Linked DNA regions of Homo sapiens: region 2 is linked to region 1. The links are contacts of gene promoters, found by promoter capture Hi-C in blood cells and fetal thymus (Javierre and others, 2016). All regions are on one chromosome and are shown on one strand. The core of a region is centred on a gene start or on the middle of the fragment in contact, and the rest is flanking DNA. Distances in the headings are between cores, read along the strand shown.

Evidence for each region. Contacts are between HindIII fragments. The CHiCAGO score rates a contact against its expected background, and 5 or more counts as called.
Region 2: a fragment that was not itself captured here is called in contact with the fragment with the promoter of ATG7 in region 1 in 2 of 17 cell types (fetal thymus and non-activated CD4 T cells); the score reaches 8.0 in fetal thymus.

The regions. Positions count from the first base shown.
Region 1 is chr3:11,269,372-11,274,356 of GRCh38, forward strand. It overlaps ATG7 (autophagy related 7), which reads left to right and starts at 3,026. Exons shown (of 21, transcript NM_001349232.2): 1 at 3,026-3,059. RefSeq lists enhancers at 2,624-2,673, 2,630-3,221, 2,944-3,073, 3,222-3,811. The HindIII fragment of the contact is 2,908 bases long and covers 1,050-3,957 here.
Region 2 is chr3:12,484,813-12,489,797 of GRCh38, forward strand. TSEN2 (tRNA splicing endonuclease subunit 2) reads left to right here. Exons shown (of 12, transcript NM_025265.4): 1 at 1-68; 2 at 4,972-4,985. Among named protein-coding and RNA genes, the nearest start is that of TSEN2, 2.8 kb to the left of the region's middle. RefSeq lists an enhancer at 1-11. The HindIII fragment of the contact is 809 bases long and covers 847-1,655 here.

The DNA.
Region 1 (4,985 bases), core at 1,776-4,275:
CGTTTCTACTAAAAATACAAAAAATTAGCCGGGTGTGGTGGCATGCACCTGTAATCCCAGCTACTTGGGAGGCTGAGGCAGAAGAATCGCTTGAACCCGGGCGGTGGAGGTTGCAGTGAGCCAAGATTGCGCCATTGCACTCCAGCTTGGGCAACAAGAGTGAAACTCCATCTCAAAAAAATAAATAAATAAAAAAAAAAGGCTGGGCGTGGTGGCTCACACCTGTAATCTCAGCACTTTGGGAGGCTGAGGCGGGTGGATCATGAGGTCAGGAGATCGAGTCCATCCTGGCTAACATGGTGAAACCCTGTCTCTACTAAAAATACAAAAAATTAGCCGGGCGAGGTGGTGGGCGCCTATAGTCCCAGCTACTTGGGAGGCTGAGGCAGGAGAATGTCATGGACCTGGGAGGCGGAGCTTGCAGTGAGCCAAGATTGTGCCACTGCACTCCAGCCTGGGTGACAGAGCGAGACTCCGTCTCAAAAAAAAAAAAAAAAAGGAAAAAGAAATCCTTGCTGGGCAAGGTGGCTCACACTTGTATTCCCAGCACTTTGTGAGGTGAAGGTGGGAGGATCACTTGAGTCCAGTAGTTCAAGACCAGCCCTGGCAACATAGCAAGACCCAGTCTCTACAAAAAATGAGAAAATTAGCCCGGCATGATGGCATGCACCTGTAGTCCCAGCTACTCAGGAGGCTGAGGTGGGAGGATCCCTGGAGCTCAGGAGGTTGAGTCTGCAGTGAGCTATGATCACTCCACTGTACTCTATCCTGGGTAACAGAGGGAGACCCCGTCTCAAAAAAAAAAAAAAAAAAAGATAAAGCAAAAAAGAGAAATCTTTCTTAACCTTTTTGTGCTTCAGAAAATGTTCACTACAAAGAAATACCCATTCTCATGTCACTTAAATGACTCCTGGTTGCCTCCCTTGTTTACTGTGGCAAGGTCAAACACAGTCCTTCTGAATTCCCATTCTTTGCCTCATAAATGATTACAGAGCTGCTTGTCTCCATTGACCAGTTGGAAAAAATGCTTATTAACCAAACTTGGGTTAAGCTTCTTTCCTTTCCCCAGGCTCCTTACTTTAACCTACTCTCAGCTTGAACTAGCATACTGTCTCATGTGTCCGTGTGAAGAGACTACCAAACAGGCTTTGTGTGAGCAACAAGGCTGTTTATTTCACCTGGGTGCAGGTGGGCTGAGTCCAAAAAGAGAGTCAGCAAAGGGTGGTGGGATTATCATTGGTTCTTATAGGTTTTGGGATAGGCGGTGGAGTTAAAAGCAATGTTTTGGGGGTAGGGGGTGGATCTCACAAAGTACATTCTCAAGGGTGGTGAGAATTACAAAGAAACTTCTTAAGGGTGGGGGAGACTATAAAAGAACCTTCTTAAGGGTGGGGGAGATTACAAAGTACATTGATCAGTTAGGGTGGGGCAGAAACAAATCACAATGGTGGAATGTCATCAGTTAAGGCTATTTTCACTTCTGCGGATCTTCAGTTGCTGCAAGCCATCTGGATGTATACGTGCAGGTCACTGGGGATATGATGGCTTAGCTTGGGCTCAGAGACTGACACACACAACCCCTACTGAGAATAGGTTGGCCTCAAGATAAAACATTCTCTAATCTACTATCTGATCAAGCCACCCCTTCATCCCACTTCCCATATTCGGTTGTTTCCAGCCTTGTTTACCTGCCTTTGGGGAGGGTGGGGGGTGGGGGAACCCTCTTTTTCCCTAACCATTGAAACATCTGCGGATGTTTTGGTCAGAGTGATCTCACTATTGCAATAGTCTCCCTCTGCTATTGCACGGTTCCTTCTCTCCCACCTCTCTCACTTCTTGCAGTAATCCTTTCTTTTTTTTTTTTTTTGAGACGGAGTCTCGCTCTGTCGCCCAGGCTGGAGTGCAGTGGTGGGATCTCGGCTCACTGCAAGCTCCGCCTCCCGGGTTCACGCCATTCTCCTGCCTCAGCCTCCCAAGTAGCTGGGACTACAGGCGCCCGCCACCACGCCCGGCTAATTTTTTTGTATTTTTAGTAGAGACGGGGTTTCACCGTTTTAGCCGGGATGGTCTCGATCTCCTGACCTCGTGATCCGCCCGCCTCGGCCTCCCAAAGTGCTGTGATTACAGGCGTGAGCCACCGCGCCGGGCCTGCAGTAATCCTTTCTAATAAGTATCCTTATTAGTCTGGATTTGTTTTCTTATTTGCCAGAATCAAACAAACTTCAGATTACGTTCCTGGCCCAAAAGCCCTTTAACTTTCAGCAAGCCACCTAACTTTTCTTAGATTCTGTTCTTTCATATATAACTTGGGGATATGTTTCAGGACTCTTGTGAGGATTAGAGATGTAAAACCCTGAAAACATGGTGGCTAGTTAATTAATAGCAGTCATCGCTCTTGTTGTTATGAGTCTAGAGTGGTATATCAGAGTTAATTTGTGAAAGGCCTTACAGGCCAGACAGAGAAACTTGTCATAATCACTGCTGTATCTTCAACACCTGTCCAGTGCTTTGCACGCGCAGAGTATCTAACCAAGTATTGAGAGGGAATAACTTTATCTCACTGACAGTGAGGAGCTGTGAGAATGATGGCTGGTTTAGAAAAGGCAGGTTGGTCACTGTCGACGTTCACTGGCCTTTTCCTACTAAAATTCTCATCTCCTGGCTCTCCACACCTGCCACCCTGATGGCCCCTGTGCTGCGTTTGATGCCGCCTCTCCTGGAGAATGACCATGGTGATCATTCCTGTCATCCTCTGAAATCAAAAGAGAGAACGTGGGCACTTTCTTAAAAGCCTGAAGGGAATGTAGACATTCCGACATCTGGTAAGGGAGACGCTCTCCATCGCTTCCCCCGGGGGCGTCACCGCCCCCTGATGCCCCGCCCTCCTCACGACTCAAGTTCCTCCCACTTAGCTCGGTGCTAGGGGCGCATTTCCCCGGCATGCCTCTGCTCCTTTGCGCACGCGCGCCGCTTCCCAGTGGCAAGCGCGGGCAGGACCGCGTTGCGTCATCGGGGCGCGCGCCTCAGAGAGAGCTGTGGTTGCCGGAAGTTGAGCGGCGGTAAGTGAGCCGCGGCGGGCGAGGGTGTAGTGGGGTCTTGCTGGGCCGGTTTTGGAGGCCTGGAGTCAAGGGGCGAGCTCGCCAGGGAGGGCGAGGGTCACAGCAAGTCTCAGGATCCTCCTCTGCCAGTTTCTGGGTGGTCCTTCCTCCTCCAGGGACTCACTGATTCCGGCTGGCGCCCTTCGTCTGTAGCCGCGTCCCCTCAGACTGGTTCAGTCCGGGGTCTTCTGACTTGGAAGCTCGTGCTGATTTCCTAAGTCAGCCCCTCCTGTCCTCTTGGTAGGCAGTGCTCAGAATCTTCAGTGTTGGAACACGGGAGATGGGACATTTGGATTCCCAGCCTGGCTGTGTCTGGATTTGCTGTCTCTGGCACGTTCCTTCCCCATCTAAGCTGCTTTTCCATCTGCAAAATGGGAATGATAATCCGCCATTTGTTTAAGTGAGGAGGTTAAATAAGTTTACTTTCTGAGAAAGAAGATTCTCGATTCCTTGGTTACAGGGTTAGAAACTAATGCACAATAAGAATCAATCCGGTAAGGTAAATATAGGTGTTAGAACATTTGTCAGAAATAGAGTCAAACTTCTAATTTTATAAGTACAGTACTAACGTACATGATGTTGGAGAAGTACAAGCCAAACCGTGTGTGTGTGCACGTGCGTGCAGTTTCCTGATTTTTAAACACTGGCGACTGATGCCATTTTTTAAAAATTGGCAAGTAATTCTGGCGTTTAAAAACATTGGCAACTCAGTTTTTACAAAACCCTGTTCAACTGTAACCAGTCATATCTGTGGCTGTCAGTTTGGGACCTCTGGATCCCAGACTCCCTTTTTCATTGACTACTTAGATTTTTTTCTCTGACACCTCTGCCCACTGGCCAGATTTCTTCAGTGACAGAAAGCTTTCTACTTCTGGTTGCTCCTGTTTGGTCCTCCCCCAGTTCTGACTCTTAGGTTGAGCTGAAAGCAGCTACTCGGTAATCTTAGCTCACTGTTCCTCCTTCAGGCTCTTGGAATCACCCCTGCATTTAATTGCCCTATACATCATTGAAAGCTGCTAGTTTGTCTTCCTCTTCTCACCTTTTCTTCTCTAGGCTAAGCATATTTAATGTATTTGCTCATAGTAAACTTAACAGTGACAGCAAATTTTGTCATGTTTTGTTATATCCCCAGCATATAGAGCAATGCCTAGCATATTATATATGCTCAATAAATATTTGTTGGATGAATGAATAAAACAAATATTTGCCTGTTATGTGCCTGGCATTATTGTGGGCACTGGTGATCTATCAGTAAAATAAGAAGAAAAAGAACCCTGTTTCATGGCACCTTCTAATAATAGTGGTGGTGGTGGCGGTGGCGGCATTGTCAGTAAGGGTTGGTAGGTGTTTCCGATTCTGAAACGTACAGGGTCATGGGATGGACAGTAATTGGGGGGAAGCATAAAAGCTAGCTAGTCAGGGATGGCTTCCCTGAGGAAGTGACCTAACACTTGAATAAAGAAAAGTCCAGTCTTGGAATGGCTCATGTTGCTAAACTGCTTTCCCATCCCCCAACGCTGCTCCAGTCTTGTTAAGCTGCTTGCAGGTGTGTGTCACCTATAGCCCTTTGCTTCTGCTGCTTCGAACATCTCCCCTTCCTCTTCCATTTATCTTGGCCAACTCCTTCCTGCCCTCATGTGACATGATTTTGAAATCCTTTAAGAGCTGAGTACTGGACTTTCCATTACTCAACCACAGGTTCCGTTTTTCGTTCCCAGCCAGCATCTCATTATAGAGAATAAACATTTATTGAGCTTCAGCTGTGTGTCTGGCACTGCGCTGCAAGCTGGGAATACAAAAATGAGTAAGATACACATCCCTGTCCTCAAAGAGTTTACTTTTTTTTTAAGCCAAGGAGATAGCAACGGTATGGCATGAAGCTATTGC
Region 2 (4,985 bases), core at 1-2,500, 1.2 Mb after region 1:
CGAGAGGAGCCGCAGCCTCTGGTGGAGTTCGGTCGGGTGTGGGGGTAGTCAAGGAAAGAAGCAAAGGGGTAAGACAGGGAGTTAGGAATTGGCGGGGCCCCTAACGCTGTTGGGGTGCGCAGTTTATTTTATTTGCAGCTGTCGTCTGGTGAGCGCTTTCCACGTGGTAGGCCCCGAACGAAACGCCTTCTGCAAAATTATGCATTTAATCCTGACAACAACTTTCAAAGGCTGGTCATCTGTTTATATGGCTTATTCTCAGGTTCTAACTTGAAAGCTCCCCAGAGGCAGGATTGTTTACCTTGTGCCTTTCATCCTTGCCTCCCTAAGCCCAGGAGGTGCGCAGATGGAGCTTGAAGCGTGTTTTGGTTGGGAGAAGGTGAGATTTGCTGGGTAGGAGGTTTTTTAACCAGGTTTGTTTGGCACCTAGTCCAGGAAGGTTGGAAAATTAAATGGAGCCACCTCTCCCTTTTTTGTTTTTCTAATAGACATTTACCATCACCTAAGAGGTGTTAGCCTGTGTGCTCGAGGGAAGAATAAGAAACAGACTCTGCTTTTAATAGAAAGTAAGAATATGCAGCTCTGGAGTCAGGTTGCGCAGGTTGGGGAAATAAGAAGTAAAGATTTCTCAGGGGTGCGCCCGGCCCCTCCGAGTCACTTTCCACATCTGTACAATGGAAATAAAAATAGTCTTTACCTCCGGGGGCTACTGGGATTAAGTGAATTTGAATAGACCTTGCTGTTACCAGTGGTTAGCTATATGTTAAAATCAGCTGGGTCCACCCAGGAAATTCTGATGTAATTGATTGCAGGTGAGGCCTGGGCATGAGGAGTTAAGGGTAGGTAAGCTTGAGGGCCACTGTGTGATGTACCACTCCCAGGTTTAATTTTCTTAATCTGCATTTTTCAATCATCATTCTAAATAACCTGCAGTGACTCCAATTCCAAACCAACCTTTGCATCCCAAACCTCTTGACAACTGACCCAGTCTTTCCTATATGTTTTTGTGCACCTCAGGCACCGCTCTTCTTTCATATCTGTGGAATGAGGATAGTACAGTCAGCTCTCGCTATCAGGTTCCGAATCTGTGGATTCAACCAATGTTGCATCAAAAATATTTGGAAAAAGAAATTTAAAAATATATATATATAACAATTATTTAGTATTTACATTGTATTAGGTATTCTAAGTAATCTAGAGAAGACTTAAAGTAGATGGGAGGATGGGCATAAGTTACATGCAAATACTACATTTTATTTAAGGGACTTGAGCTGCGGATTTTGGTAGGGGGTGAGTCCTGGAACCAGTCCTTCTGTGGATACCAAGGGATGACTATAGTACCCACATGTGCAGCACATGCAGTGAGTGCCTCTGGCATCTGGTACCTACCTATGACAGTTTCCTCTTCTTATTTTACTCACATCCCACCTCTTACAGCATGCTGTTCTGCCGCGACACTAAAGAACCTTCTTGAATATCCATTGCAGATATGGGGAATGGTAAATGCAGTCTTTTCTCCTCTGCTTTGCCTTTCGAGTTCAGCACAGGAGGACTCTTCCATGAAACTAGAGATCATCTGATTTGTCCTCTTGAATTTTTCCCCCTGGGGAAGTGAGCTCTACCTTCCCTGAGGGTTTCTTTCTATCTTTTCTAGAAGCTTCACGCTGGTATCTGTGAAGTCATTCTTGCAGGACATGGCCTGGGGAATGTCTTTACTTCTGAATTTTTTAAAATAGCTTTATTGAGATACCATATAATTCTGTAAAAGTCACCCTTCTGAAATGTACGAGTCAGTGGTCTTCGTATTCGCGGAGTTATGTAACCATTACCATCACTACAATCTAATTTTAAAACATTTTCGTCACCCTCCAAAATAAACCTCCTGTCTTATTAGCAGTCGCCCCCCCATTTCCCACTTTTCCCTGTCTCTGGCAACTGGTAATCTGTCTCTATGGATTTGTCTATTCCGGAAACTTTATCTTAATTGTCTCGTGGTCTTTTGTGTCTGACTTCTTTTAGCATAATGCTTTCAGGTGTTGAAGAATGTATCCGAACTTCATTCCTTTTCTATGGCTAAGTATTTGATTATATGGATAGACCACATTTTGTTGATCTGGTCAACTATTGATGGACATTTGGATGGCTTCCACTTTGATGCTATTATGAATAATACTGTTGTGAACATTCACATACAAATTTTTCCATGAACATATGTTTTCATTTCTCTTAGGTCTATACCTAGGGGTGGAGTTGCTGGATCATGTCGTAACTATGTGTTTGACATTTTGAGGAACTGCCAGACTCCTCCAGTCCTGTTCGATTTGAAGATGAAACTGGGCTTAGAGAAAGTGGGTTGTGCAAGGTCACACAATAATAATGGCGGCTTTGCATGTCTGGAAGGCCTACTGCGAGCCAAATTCCTGAGGGGTGTGCAGCCACATGAGCAAGAGTAACACAAGAACTTGGATTATGAGGGGTGTTTTGTCGCAGGGACCCTTCCATCCCACACACCTGGGTTGGAGTACAGAGTTCTTTCGATCAAGTGTCACAGCTAAATCTTGCCTTTTTTAGATGTGACAGCAGTCTGAGAGGGAAAAACGCTGAACAAATGAGGCAGACTAAAATACAACTCTTATTTGTTGAGAGAATTTATTAGAACTTCTTGAAGGTGGCCATTAAATCTTTTTTCATTTTTTTAAAATTCCGAATGTAATGTATATAAGTCAGCTGCTGAGCAGAGGTTATAAAAGTGAAAAATCCCATAAAAGTCCAAACCATTCCTGGAAGTCTTTCAAAAAGTGCCTTACTAGAGACCAACATCCTGCCCCCAAAAAGCAGTGTTTATTTTCAGTTTTAGAATAAATTATTGTCTCTCCAATTGAGTACTAAATGTGATAATTTAGTACTTGGGCTGAGGGATAAGTCAGCAAGCAAGGTAAAGCCTAGTCTAAATATGCTCTTAAGAAAATCTCTTAGGTTTCCTGTGAGCATGCAGTAGACGTGGTTTTGTTATAAACACTATACAGCAAGATGCATGCATAAATATAAAATGTACAAAGTAATGCTCAGTATGTAATTCCTTCAAGGAACCTTATTTAGAAATTAATCTAGCATGTTGCTGCTTAGAACAATGGCAATTCTAGGAAGGTTCCAACTTCCCGATTCTTCTTTTTCATGGTTATCTTTGTAATTGATGTATCATTTCCTCTAACTCCTCTTTAGTCTGTGTTTTTCTGTGTCCTCATATAATTCCTCAGCTTCTTCCTTGAGAAGTTGGATACTGATATCATCACACGTTGGATAAGCCTTTTCTTAATGGTCATGACACTCTTAAAGCCACTCACCTTCCCCTCCCTCAGTTTTGGCCACCTTCTTGACTGTTTCAGGCTTGATGGCATCCCTTGCCAATGGGATGCAAGTACTGAGTGCAGGAGCCACCTAAGTAATTAGTCTTATTTTTTCCCTTGTGAGGATTCGGAGTCATGTAGGTTAAACGTGTGTATGATTTGGCCGCACTGTATCTTCAAGCACCAGGTAAGCTCTCAGTTGAAATCAAGTCTAGACCTAGTACTGGGGGAGCAGCAGATTCAAGTTTCCCATCTCATTCCAGGACAGCTGCTCCTCGAGTGGAATGTCTTGCACCATTTACATTGTTTTCCCATGTATATGGTTACGTTTTCCTAGGTTAAGTGCATCTACTGTATCTCTGTGTCTGCATCACACAATATGTTCACATTTACTTCCCTCCTTTAGACATTAGTGGATAACAGCCAGTTCCGTTAGCTCCAACCTGCTTTCTGTGCTTCCAGCTATGTTATATACTTGTTTTGTCTCCTTGGATCCAATGTATGGCCCCAGAGGGACACGTACTGGCTTTGGCTTTCTGTTCTCCCTCATGGTGCTGGGTGCACAGTGGGTAATTCCGTTACTGCTCAATAACCCTTCACCGTCTGATTTTGAGAAAGAGTCATCAGACAAAAGTAGATAGACCCTGCCTGTGCTTTCAGCAGAATCTAGAGAGAGGGCATGGGCTTGGGAGTTCAACAGACCTGGGTCACCCGATGCCACCACACTCGGGGTCGTCTACAAATCTCTCTAACCTGAATCTGTTTCCTATTTGTAAAATGGTGTTGCTACTGCTCACCCTGTAATACTAATTATAGCTGATACATGAATGGTACACGCTATGTGCCAGGTACTGTTCTAAGCACTTTATGGATCTTAACTGTAAGATAGAGTCGTTCTTATCTTGATTTTGCAGGTGAGGAAACTAAATCACAGAGAGAGTCAGTGACTTTTGCCCAAAATCACACTGCTAGGAAGTGGTAAAGTTGATTCTGATGCTGATAGTCTGGCTTTAGAGTCCCTGCTTGAAGCCAGTAGCATTTGGTAGTATATAATCGACCCTTAAATAACTGCTGCTGTCATTATTATTTATTAATGTACTTTAAAAATTGGGAGCTGATTGACCCAATGTTTAGTGTGTATTGTAAGATCCTCTTGGAAAATGAAGTGCCTGCAAGATTTAATTTGTTGAGGACAGGGTCTCAGTTTTGTCTTTGTCTCCCCAGCACCTATGATTATTAGGAATTCCTGGTAGTAAATGTCTGTTGGGTGAGTGAAATGGAAGCACTCCTGGTAGACAGAAATCCTGTTGTGCTTGCTCTCAGGAGACCTAACATTGCAGCTTTGGGCATGTCACTAGGTCTCAGCGTTGTCAGCTGGAGTAGAAAGATTACCACTCATTTCCTGGGGTTTATTGTGGGGATTAATTGCAGTATTCTAGGTCAATATGATTTACATTGCTCACACAAACTGTTCTTACTGCTTTTAGTTTATTGCTTTATAAATACTCTATTTCTTCCCACAGACCACTAAGTTTTCTGAGCCTAGGTACAGATGTACTCACATTTTGGATCAAGGTAGTTATTGATTGTCTGTTTCTTTCTGTTTGTTGTCTACTCTTTAAAGAATACCTCCTCTGA